2 separate regions of the Homo sapiens genome follow, and region 2 is linked to region 1. Evidence: promoter capture Hi-C in 16 types of primary human blood cells and fetal thymus (Javierre and others, 2016). All regions are on one chromosome and are shown on one strand. Each heading gives the region's core, a stretch centred on a gene start or on the middle of the fragment in contact. The rest is flanking DNA. Distances are from core to core; before and after follow the strand shown. Region 1 holds the start of SYCP3 (synaptonemal complex protein 3). Region 2 holds the start of LOC105369937 (a long non-coding RNA gene).

What was found. Contacts are between HindIII fragments. The CHiCAGO score rates a contact against its expected background, and 5 or more counts as called.
Region 2: a fragment that was not itself captured here is called in contact with the fragment with the promoter of SYCP3 in region 1 in 1 of 17 cell types (total B cells); the score reaches 7.4 in total B cells.

What each region holds. Positions count from the first base shown.
Region 1 is chr12:101,736,514-101,741,131 of GRCh38, forward strand. SYCP3 (synaptonemal complex protein 3) reads right to left here and starts at 2,949. Exons shown (of 9, transcript NM_001177949.2): 1 at 2,838-2,949; 2 at 1,290-1,439; 3 at 719-785; 4 at 524-558. The coding sequence starts at 1,422. The HindIII fragment of the contact is 5,223 bases long and covers 1,078-4,618 here.
Region 2 is chr12:101,648,754-101,653,350 of GRCh38, forward strand. MYBPC1 (myosin binding protein C1) reads left to right here. Exons shown (of 32, transcript NM_002465.4): 15 at 507-673; 16 at 2,478-2,640; 17 at 3,925-4,031; 18 at 4,362-4,495. LOC105369937 (a long non-coding RNA gene) reads right to left here and starts at 2,118. Exons shown (of 2, transcript NR_188371.1): 1 at 2,063-2,118. The HindIII fragment of the contact is 2,806 bases long and covers 1,622-4,427 here.

The DNA of each region.
Region 1 (4,618 bases), core at 1,699-4,198:
TTTTTGAACCTAATTATAAAACTCTATCTAGCAAAATTGTCTTTAGTATCAACTACATAGTTTATTAATGTAAAAAGAGTTATTTTAGAGGCTTAATTTACACTGTCCTCCCTAAAGAAAATAGCATAGGAAGTCAGAAAATAACTAAACTGAAAAAATGAAAAACTTATATACAAATATATGTATGTATGTATATGTGTGTGTGTGTGTGTGTGTGTGTGTGTGTGTATCACTTAGTCTGTGAATACAAAGAAGGGTAAAGACTTTTCCTGTGCATTTTTCTTCTAAAATTCCATAGTCCATTAAATTCACATATGTATAAAATACCATTCACTCTTAACATCATGGAAAAGATTAACTATGAAAATCTGTGATGCTAAATCACAAATACTTATGCAGAATCTTCTATGTGAGAACAAGGCATTAAATAACAGTCTTATAGTCCATTATTAACATTTGTTATTATACAAATTATATGGCTTAAAACAATTTTCTTTAAATACAAGTATCTCCTAAAACCTACCTCCAACTCCTTCCAGCATATTCTGCACTTCACCCCTGGAAAGAAATTACATTTTAAACACTTTAGAAGATCCACAACATACCATGCTTGTTTTGGAAGAAATACCAGATGCCAAGTATTTTACATATATTATTTGTTAGCAACTTTTCTTGAAGTGCTTTATCTAAGAAACAAAAATTATTTTGAACACGTTACCCCATATCTTCAACTACTCCTGCAGAAGACCTTTTCTTCCTACGTTTCTCAATGACTGCAGTCTTCCCTGTATTGACAATTAAAAAAAAAAAAAAAAAGCTTTTGAAACTGAATAGGTTATTTTGGTAAATTTTAATGAAACATCTTCATTTGGGGATTTTTAGGCTTTTTGCCAACATACAGTTTCAAAGCAGACATAAAAATGCAATATTCTCTGCAGGTTAGGTGAAATTAAATCAGGATTCAGGACCATTTTATAGGAATAATTTTTCAAGTCTCCCTGGGTTAATGTCACAGTAAGCCACATACTATATATCAGATATTTTGGAAATAACTGCAAAAGCAAGAGTTGCCGAATAAGCTTCTGTAACTCCGATACTGCAATATAAGGATCAAATGAGAAACACAAGTACAGCTGGCCATCCGTGTCAGCAGGTTCTGTAACCACAAATACCGGGGGAGGGAAGACCATACCTGAAAATGCTTTACAAACTAAGTTGTACGATAGTCTCAATGGGTTCAAAACAAATGAACTGAAGGACATCACTGCCCAACATGAGATGTACTGCACCTTCAATAACATCTTCCTCTGATCCACTCAGATCTTTCTTATCTTCAGTCTCAAAGTCATAGGCTCTCGTAAACTGATCTTCCACAGACGGCTTCCCAGATTTCCTGGAATACTTTTTTCCGGAGGACACCATATTTAGATGCTTCCTGACTTTAAAAAACAAATTTCTTTAACCTTCTGAATGCAAAGACATCATTTTAATACACTGGTAAAAGTTTAAATATCAAAGGAGATATCGAACAAGGATTGTTGAATACAATTTTAACAGTTTCCTCATTTATTTGGGGGGCCAAAAGTTAAGAAGATAATGACATTTGTTAAAAAATAATAAAATAAATAGGCCAAGCACGGTAGCTCACGCCTGAAATCCCAGCACTTTGGAAGGTTGAGGCAGGCAGATCACCTGAGGTCAGGAGTTCAAGACCAGCCTGGCCAACATGATGAAACCCCGTCTCTACTGAAAAAAAAAAACAAAATTAACCGGGCGTGGTGGCACGTGCCTGTAGTCCCAGCTGCTCAGGAGGCTGAGGCAGGAGAATCGCTTGAACCCGGGAGACAGAGGTCACAGTGAGCCAAGATCGCAGCCACTGCACTCCAGCCTGGGTGACAAGAGTGAAACTTCGTCTCAAAAAAAAAAAACAACAACAGAAATGGCCGGGCGCTGTGGCTCATGCCTGTAATCCCATCACTTTGGGAGGCCGAGGTGGGTGGATCACCTGAGGTCAGGAGTTTGAGACCAGCCTGGCCAACATGGTGAAACCCCGTCTCTACTAAAAATACAAAATTAGCCGGGCGCGGTGGCGGGTGCCTATGATCTCAGTTACTCAGGAGGCTGAGGCAGAAGAATCGCTTCAACCCGGGAGGCGGAGGTTGCAGTGAGCTGAGATGGCCCCACTGCACTCCAGCCTGGGCGACAGAGTGAGACTTCGTCTCAATCAATCAATCGATGAGAGAGAATGACAGTGTCCACCCCGACTCCAAGCGCGCAGTGCTGGAGAGGTGGCCCCTGAGGCCTGGGAGTTCCAAATTTTGGGGCCGCCTCTGCCAGATTCTGGCTAAATCTGGGCAACTCTAGCAGGGCGCTCAGTCACGCGGGGAAATTATAGTTGCTGGCGGGACACGACATGAGGATGCCAGAAATAAGCTCATAATAATCAAGACAAATAATAAAAACGTCCCGCAATTTAGGTCTCGGAAAATGAACACAGGCAGAAGATTTCGACAACAAATACATCGAGGAACCACGAAAGGCGCCCTCGGCGTGGAGCGGGCAGGAGGGAGACGCGCGGAGCGAGGTAGGGCCCTGCCCGGCCCCGCCGCGTCCCTCCTGTAAGTGGTCCCAGGGTGTAGCGATGGGGCCCAGCCCCAGCCCAGCCCGCCCGCTTTCCACTAGGCCCTATCCTGCTCAAGGCCCTGTCCTCAGGTTCGCGGCCTCCGTTTTCTCGTCAGAGGCCCCAGGCGACGCCAGGAGGTAAGATTTACCTCACTGGTCAAGGGCAGCCTCTGGCCTGGACACCTGCGATAGACAGACGCCTCCCCTGCTCACACCTGAAACACACCGCAATGGCCGAGGACCAGTTACTGGTCGTCGACAGGCGTCCTCCACAACTCCTCCACAAGCGCGCTTCACCTGAGGTGGCCCCTTCTCCGCGACGCTTCTGAGGCAAGCTGGGATTCGCACAGGAGAAAAGCCAGTCCCGCCTCATCCGGACACGTCGCTGATTGGCTGGACGCAGAGCGCAGGCGTGAACTGGGTGGCGAGGCTCCGCCCCCATGGGGCGATTGCGCGCCCAAATAGCTGGCCCAGGGTGCTTTGGCCGCCGGAGCGGGTTGCGAGTACACTTGAGGCCTGGTGCCTTCCAGTTTTTAAGTTTTAAATGTTTATAATCGAAAATTGCAGCTAGGCGCAGTGGCTCACACCTGTAATCCCAGCACTTTGGGAGGCCGAGGCAGACGGATCACTTGAGGTCAGGAGTTCCAGACCAGCCTGTCCAACATGGCGAAACCCATCTCTACTAAAAATACAAAAATTAGCCGGACGTGGTGGCGGGCGCCTGTAATCCCAGCTACTTGGGAAGCTGAGGCAGGAGAATCGCTTGAACCCGGGAGGCAGAGGTTGCAGTGAGCAAGACCATGCCATTGTACTCCAGCCTGGGCAACAGAGTGAGACTCCATGTCAAGAAAAAAAAAAAGAAAATTGCGGAATAATATGTAAATTATGAAACATGATGAACATACCACCTAATTTATGAAGTAGGGCTTTACCAACATTCACTGAATCTCCTCAGGCAGGCCTTTCCATCCGATCCTCACCAGGACCCCACCCTTCCCCATTCAGGGATATAAGAAAATTATCCTAAATTTATGTAAATCATTCACCCTTCCTTATTTTCTAAGTTTTATTACCACATGAAAATGTGTCGTTAAACAACACGGCTTAGTTTCGTTCGCGTTTGGCATTACAAAAAATTGTCCCATAGTCTATGTAGTGTTCTGACAGTCCACTAGAATGGCAAAACTACAAAATATGACTACACGGAGTGATGATGAATCTATGTAACAAAGGGAACCCATTCAGTGGGTGGGAGTATAATTGTAAAACAATTATTTGGTGTAACTGGAAATCACCTATCAATTGCAAAACAATTTTTGAAGATACAATTTATGAAGGAAATGAAACTCACCTATAATCCCACTACCCAGAAATAATATACAGTTTAAAATTGGGGGTATTATTGCCTTTCATCCTTTTTTCTGTGCTTATATGTATTTTCCCCCAAATAATTTTAAAATATATTTCAACCTTTGTACCTGCCTTAGTTTGCTCACAGCTCTGCAATCCTTTTTCTATTTGAAATCATACATTTTACTTTTTTTTTTTTTTTTTTTTTGAGACAGGGTTTTGCTCTCTTGCCAAGGCTGAAGTGCAGTGGCATGGCATGATCACGGCTCACTGCAGCCTTGATTTCCTGGGCCCAAATGATCCCCCTGTCTCTGCCTCCTGCGTAGCTGGGACTCATGCACGTGCCACCATGCCTGGCTAATTAAGAAAAAAAAAAAAAAAAAGTTTGCCGAGATGGGGTCTCACTATGTTGCCCAGGCTGTTCTCAAACTCCTAGGCTCAAATGATCCTCTCACCTCGGCCTTCCAAAGTGCTGGGATTACAGGCATGAGCCAACTTGCCTGGCCTATATTTTACTTCTTTAATATTTGGCAAAGGCTTCAGGATCTTATTGACGCCAATCACTTTTCAACTGCCTAGTTCAAGTAAGAGATTCAAAGGAACCCTCCTGTTTACTGTTTTGCTTTGAATCCTCTTCCTTATGATG
Region 2 (4,597 bases), core at 1,775-4,274, 88 kb before region 1:
TTGCTCAGGTGGGGAATGTTTTCTCAGGTTCCTTGTGAGTAATCTTAAAATTAAAAACTAGAAATTTTAAATCTTAAAATGAAATGTTATGTTGAAAGGTACAGTAAATTACACAGCAGGATTTGTAGTAATTGGTACAGTGTAGATTGTTCATTCTAATAGAGAATCATAGTTATCTTTAAAATGCATTAAATGATATTCTTACTAATGTGCTTCAAGAGCCTACATGGGGGTAATATCCACTCTTAGCAGTTGCACCTGATTCATCTTGAGTGCGAGCAGGTGGCTCGTGTTCTTTTAACACAATTTTGTAGACAATATTTGTTACATTATGAATCTACTGATGGATACAGAGATTGATTCGTACATTTTTTAATTCAACAAATAGTTCTTGTGTGTCTCATATCCTCCAGAAATTCTTCAGGATATTGCAATAAGCAAGATGGACAAGGTATTTTTCCTGAAGGATCTTTTACAAACCTTTTTAATATTTTATCTTAATTCAGGTTTAAGAATGGTGAAGAGATTATCCCTGGTCCAAAATCAAGATACCGAATTAGAGTTGAGGGTAAAAAACACATCTTGATCATAGAGGGAGCAACAAAGGCTGATGCTGCAGAATATTCAGTAATGACAACAGGAGGACAATCATCTGCTAAACTTAGTGTTGACTGTAAGTGAGACTTCTTTAGATGTCTTCTCAGTGGGCTTATTAATGATGGTTGTGTTAATTCGGTTTCAGAAAAGTTTCTATTTGATTTCTATTTGCGATGATTTTTAAGTATGTAAAATGGATTTCATTCCAGCTAAGTGTCTATGTCAGATCAATCAGGATATTTAAGGAAGGAACCACGACTCAATTTAATAGTAGAGCGCCAATATTAGGAAGGAAGTATAAAAATCACCTGCCAGAAGAGTTATAATTCCAAGACCGTAAAAATAGGGGATAAATACTTAGATACGATGTCATATCCTGATAATGTTAGCTAGCTATTCATCAAATAACCATTCAACACTCTGCAATTACATTTGGCATGAGAAGAAAGTAATTCAAACCAAAAGGGCTCAATTGAGAAGATTGTAAGAGCTAATTTGCTAGTAGGCTTCAGAGGCATGAGAGAATTAATGTACTTCCCTCAATGCCCTCTACTTCTAGTCAGTTAGCAATGGCAGAATCTCTCCCAATTTGCCATAAAAATTAAAACAGCAAATATCTCAAGATGATGTCACAAAAAGAGCAGAAATCTTACTTCCACATTTATTGCTTAGTCCAGTTGCAGTTCATATAATCATTGAATTATTCAGGATCAATCCCAATACATTCCTTATGCTTTATGGATCTGTGGCCATTTTAGTTTAACATCAAGAAGTCTTTCAGCCATAGACAGATCCTTATCTGATATTTGTATCCATTTAAAGCAATTATAATCCATTCTGCTATGATGTAACATGTGCATTTCTAAAAATAATTATGCTATGCAAAGTCATGCAGTAAAAACCATAGGGTTTGTAGGGGAAATGGGATTATGGGTATGACACTCAAGAATTTTGCTGGTTTATTAGTCCGTTCTCATGCTGCTAATAAAGACATACCCAAGACTGGGTAATCTATAAAGGAAAAAGCTTCAGTTGACTCACAGTTCCGCATGGCTGGGGAGACCTCAGGAAACTTACAATCATGGCAGAAGGGAAAGCAAATATGTCCTTCTTCACATGGTGGCAGCAAGGAGAAGTACCAAGCAAAATGGCAAAAGTCCCTTATAAAACTGTCAGATCTCATGAGAACTCAGTCACTATCATGAGAACAGCAGCAGGGGGGTAACCGCCCCCATGATTCAATTACCTCCCACCACGTCCCTCCCATGACATGTGAGGATTATAGGAACTACAATTCAAGATGAGATTTAGGTGAGGGCACAGCCAAACCACATCAGTCAGCGACATATTTTTTAAAATATAAGAACCCAGTAAAAAGTAGTAGCACAGTTTTACACATGCTAAATGGTTAATAAATATAATAAATATGGCACTTAATGTTGAAAAAGACCTGAGATTTGCTTACAGAATTAATGCTGGAAGTGTTGTGGCTTGTGAACTGTTGTGAAGCAGTAGAAAGAGGATTATTCAAAATCTGATGAGTAGTTGTGACCTCAGATGTAAATGGGTGTGGCTTATATCACATGGATGAACTGAGGTAGCTGATAGATGTTTGAGGTGTGAGTCTGCAGATTTTGTGCATTCCTTGCTGGGTCATTTCAGCTGGATGCAATTTTCTGCATTCACCTAGTTTTTCTAAGGAATGAAATTGTACAGAATCAAATGTGAAATTATCCTCTAATATATTAATTGCATTGGTACAGCTTCTCACTTTCAAAACAAACATTGTAGTAGAGCTCACTATACCATTGTGAAATGCCACCATCTTGGCCTGTTGGGAGTTTGGGCTTGGCATTTGTGATGGTCTATCATTTCTACAGTGAAACCTCTGAAGATTTTGACACCTCTGACTGATCAGACTGTAAATCTTGGAAAAGAAATCTGCCTGAAGTGTGAAATCTCTGAAAACATACCAGGAAAATGGACTAAAAATGGCCTACCTGTTCAGGAGAGTGACCGTCTAAAGGTGGTTCACAAGGGAAGGTAAGCGAGCCAGGTGACCCGCAAGTGAGGTTTGGTCCCATTTCTACTTTCTCCATTTTCTAAATTACATATTTGGTGAGGATATTTGAAGGGTAGCCATAGGGAGATCATCTATTCCTGATTCTTCGCTTCCAACTAGCAAGAAGGTGTGATTTCTCTGTTGTATAGCATGTCCTACTCATAATCCTGTATCTGTACCTCACACTATGGTACTTTGTCTATTCAAAATCCATTGACTCTTTTTCCATTTAAACATGAAGTTAGAGGCCAGGCACCATGGCTCATGCCTGTAATCCCAACACTTTGGGACGCCAAGGCAGACGGATCAATTGAGCTCAGGAGTTCAAGAGCTCCTGGGCTACATGGCAAAACCTCATCTCTACAAAAAACACAAAAATTAGCCAGGCGTGGTGGCATGCACCTGTAATCCCAACTACTTGGGAGGTGGGAGGATGGCTTGAACCCAGTAGGGGGAGGTTGAAGTGAGCTGAGATCACACCACTGCATTTCAGCCTGGGAAACAGAATGAGAGACCTTGTCTCTAAAATAAATAATAAACATGAAGTTAGAGGAAAAATACTGAATTCTAATTGAGGACCTGATCAAATGGATTAACCGTCTCTAACCAATAAGTGTCACAATGCCTTCCCACAAATCTTTATTTGCGTAGGGGACATAATATCCTAGAATCTGGCAAAGATCTAAGGCAAGAGTTTAACTTTGAATTCATGGGCTTTTAGGGTATCATAAATGAACTTTAGGAAGCCCCATAACTCCTGTGAAATTGTGAGAAAATTCTATGTGTACAAAAATACATACTGTTTACACAGAAAGGATTCATAGTGTCCATCAGATATTCACTAGTTTGTGACCCCAATAAAGTTAAGAGCTATTGTTCTTAGGGTTTGGGATGTAAAGCCAAAATCAAGATTATTCTTGGCATCTCTTGAATCTTAAAGTATAGCATTATTGATATGTTCTATTTTAGCCTTTTTAAAGCTATGAGATGAAAAAAAAGAATAATAGACTCTGCATATACAATAAGCAGATTCTATTTGTGGAGATAATTCCATATAGTCCAAAATAAAGATTTAATTTGAATCAATAAGTAGGATAATTAAGGCTTCTCATCCTCTCTCTCTCTCTCTCTCTTTCTCTCTCTCTCTCCCTCTCTTTCCTGCACTAAAGAAGTTAATCAGATAAAGGTCAAGTGTCTTTTCAGCTTGGGTCATATATAAACTAGATCTTTGGAGTCTTAGAAATACATTTTCCTTGTTTCCTTAGGATCCACAAGTTAGTGATAGCCAATGCCCTCACTGAAGATGAAGGTGATTATGTATTTGCACCTGATGCCTACAATGTTACTCTGCCTGCCAAAGTTCATGTTATTGGTGAGTAGATAAAATAATTCATTGCATAGTTGTGTTCTTTTTTGTTTGCTTTTGCTTACCATGGAATTATAATATATTCAAAACTAAGTGACATTTAAGGAAAAATACATCAATTGGTATTAATCACCAATCAGAAAGATTGGTGACTTATACCAACACCTTACAATAAAATGGTTTTGCAAGGTGCCAGGCACCAACTATCTTGACTCCTCTTATATTCTTTTTGATTAGATAAAATATTGGTTACTACCATCATACTAGCCAAACATTAGTGCAGATATTTACACAGAAATGACTGTCTGATAACAAAGACTATGCTTAATATTCTAGATCCTCCTAAGATCATCCTGGATGGTCTTGATGCTGACAACACAGTGACAGTGATTGCAGGAAACAAGCTTCGTCTTGAGATCCCCATCAGCGGAGAACCACCTCCTAAAGCCATGTGGAGCCGGGGAGATAAGGTTTGTTTTATGCTTGCACACACTCACATGCACACACACATATGCAGACACACTGCCTACCCCACCCCTTGCCCTCCATTATTCAGATGAAGGTAGAAAACA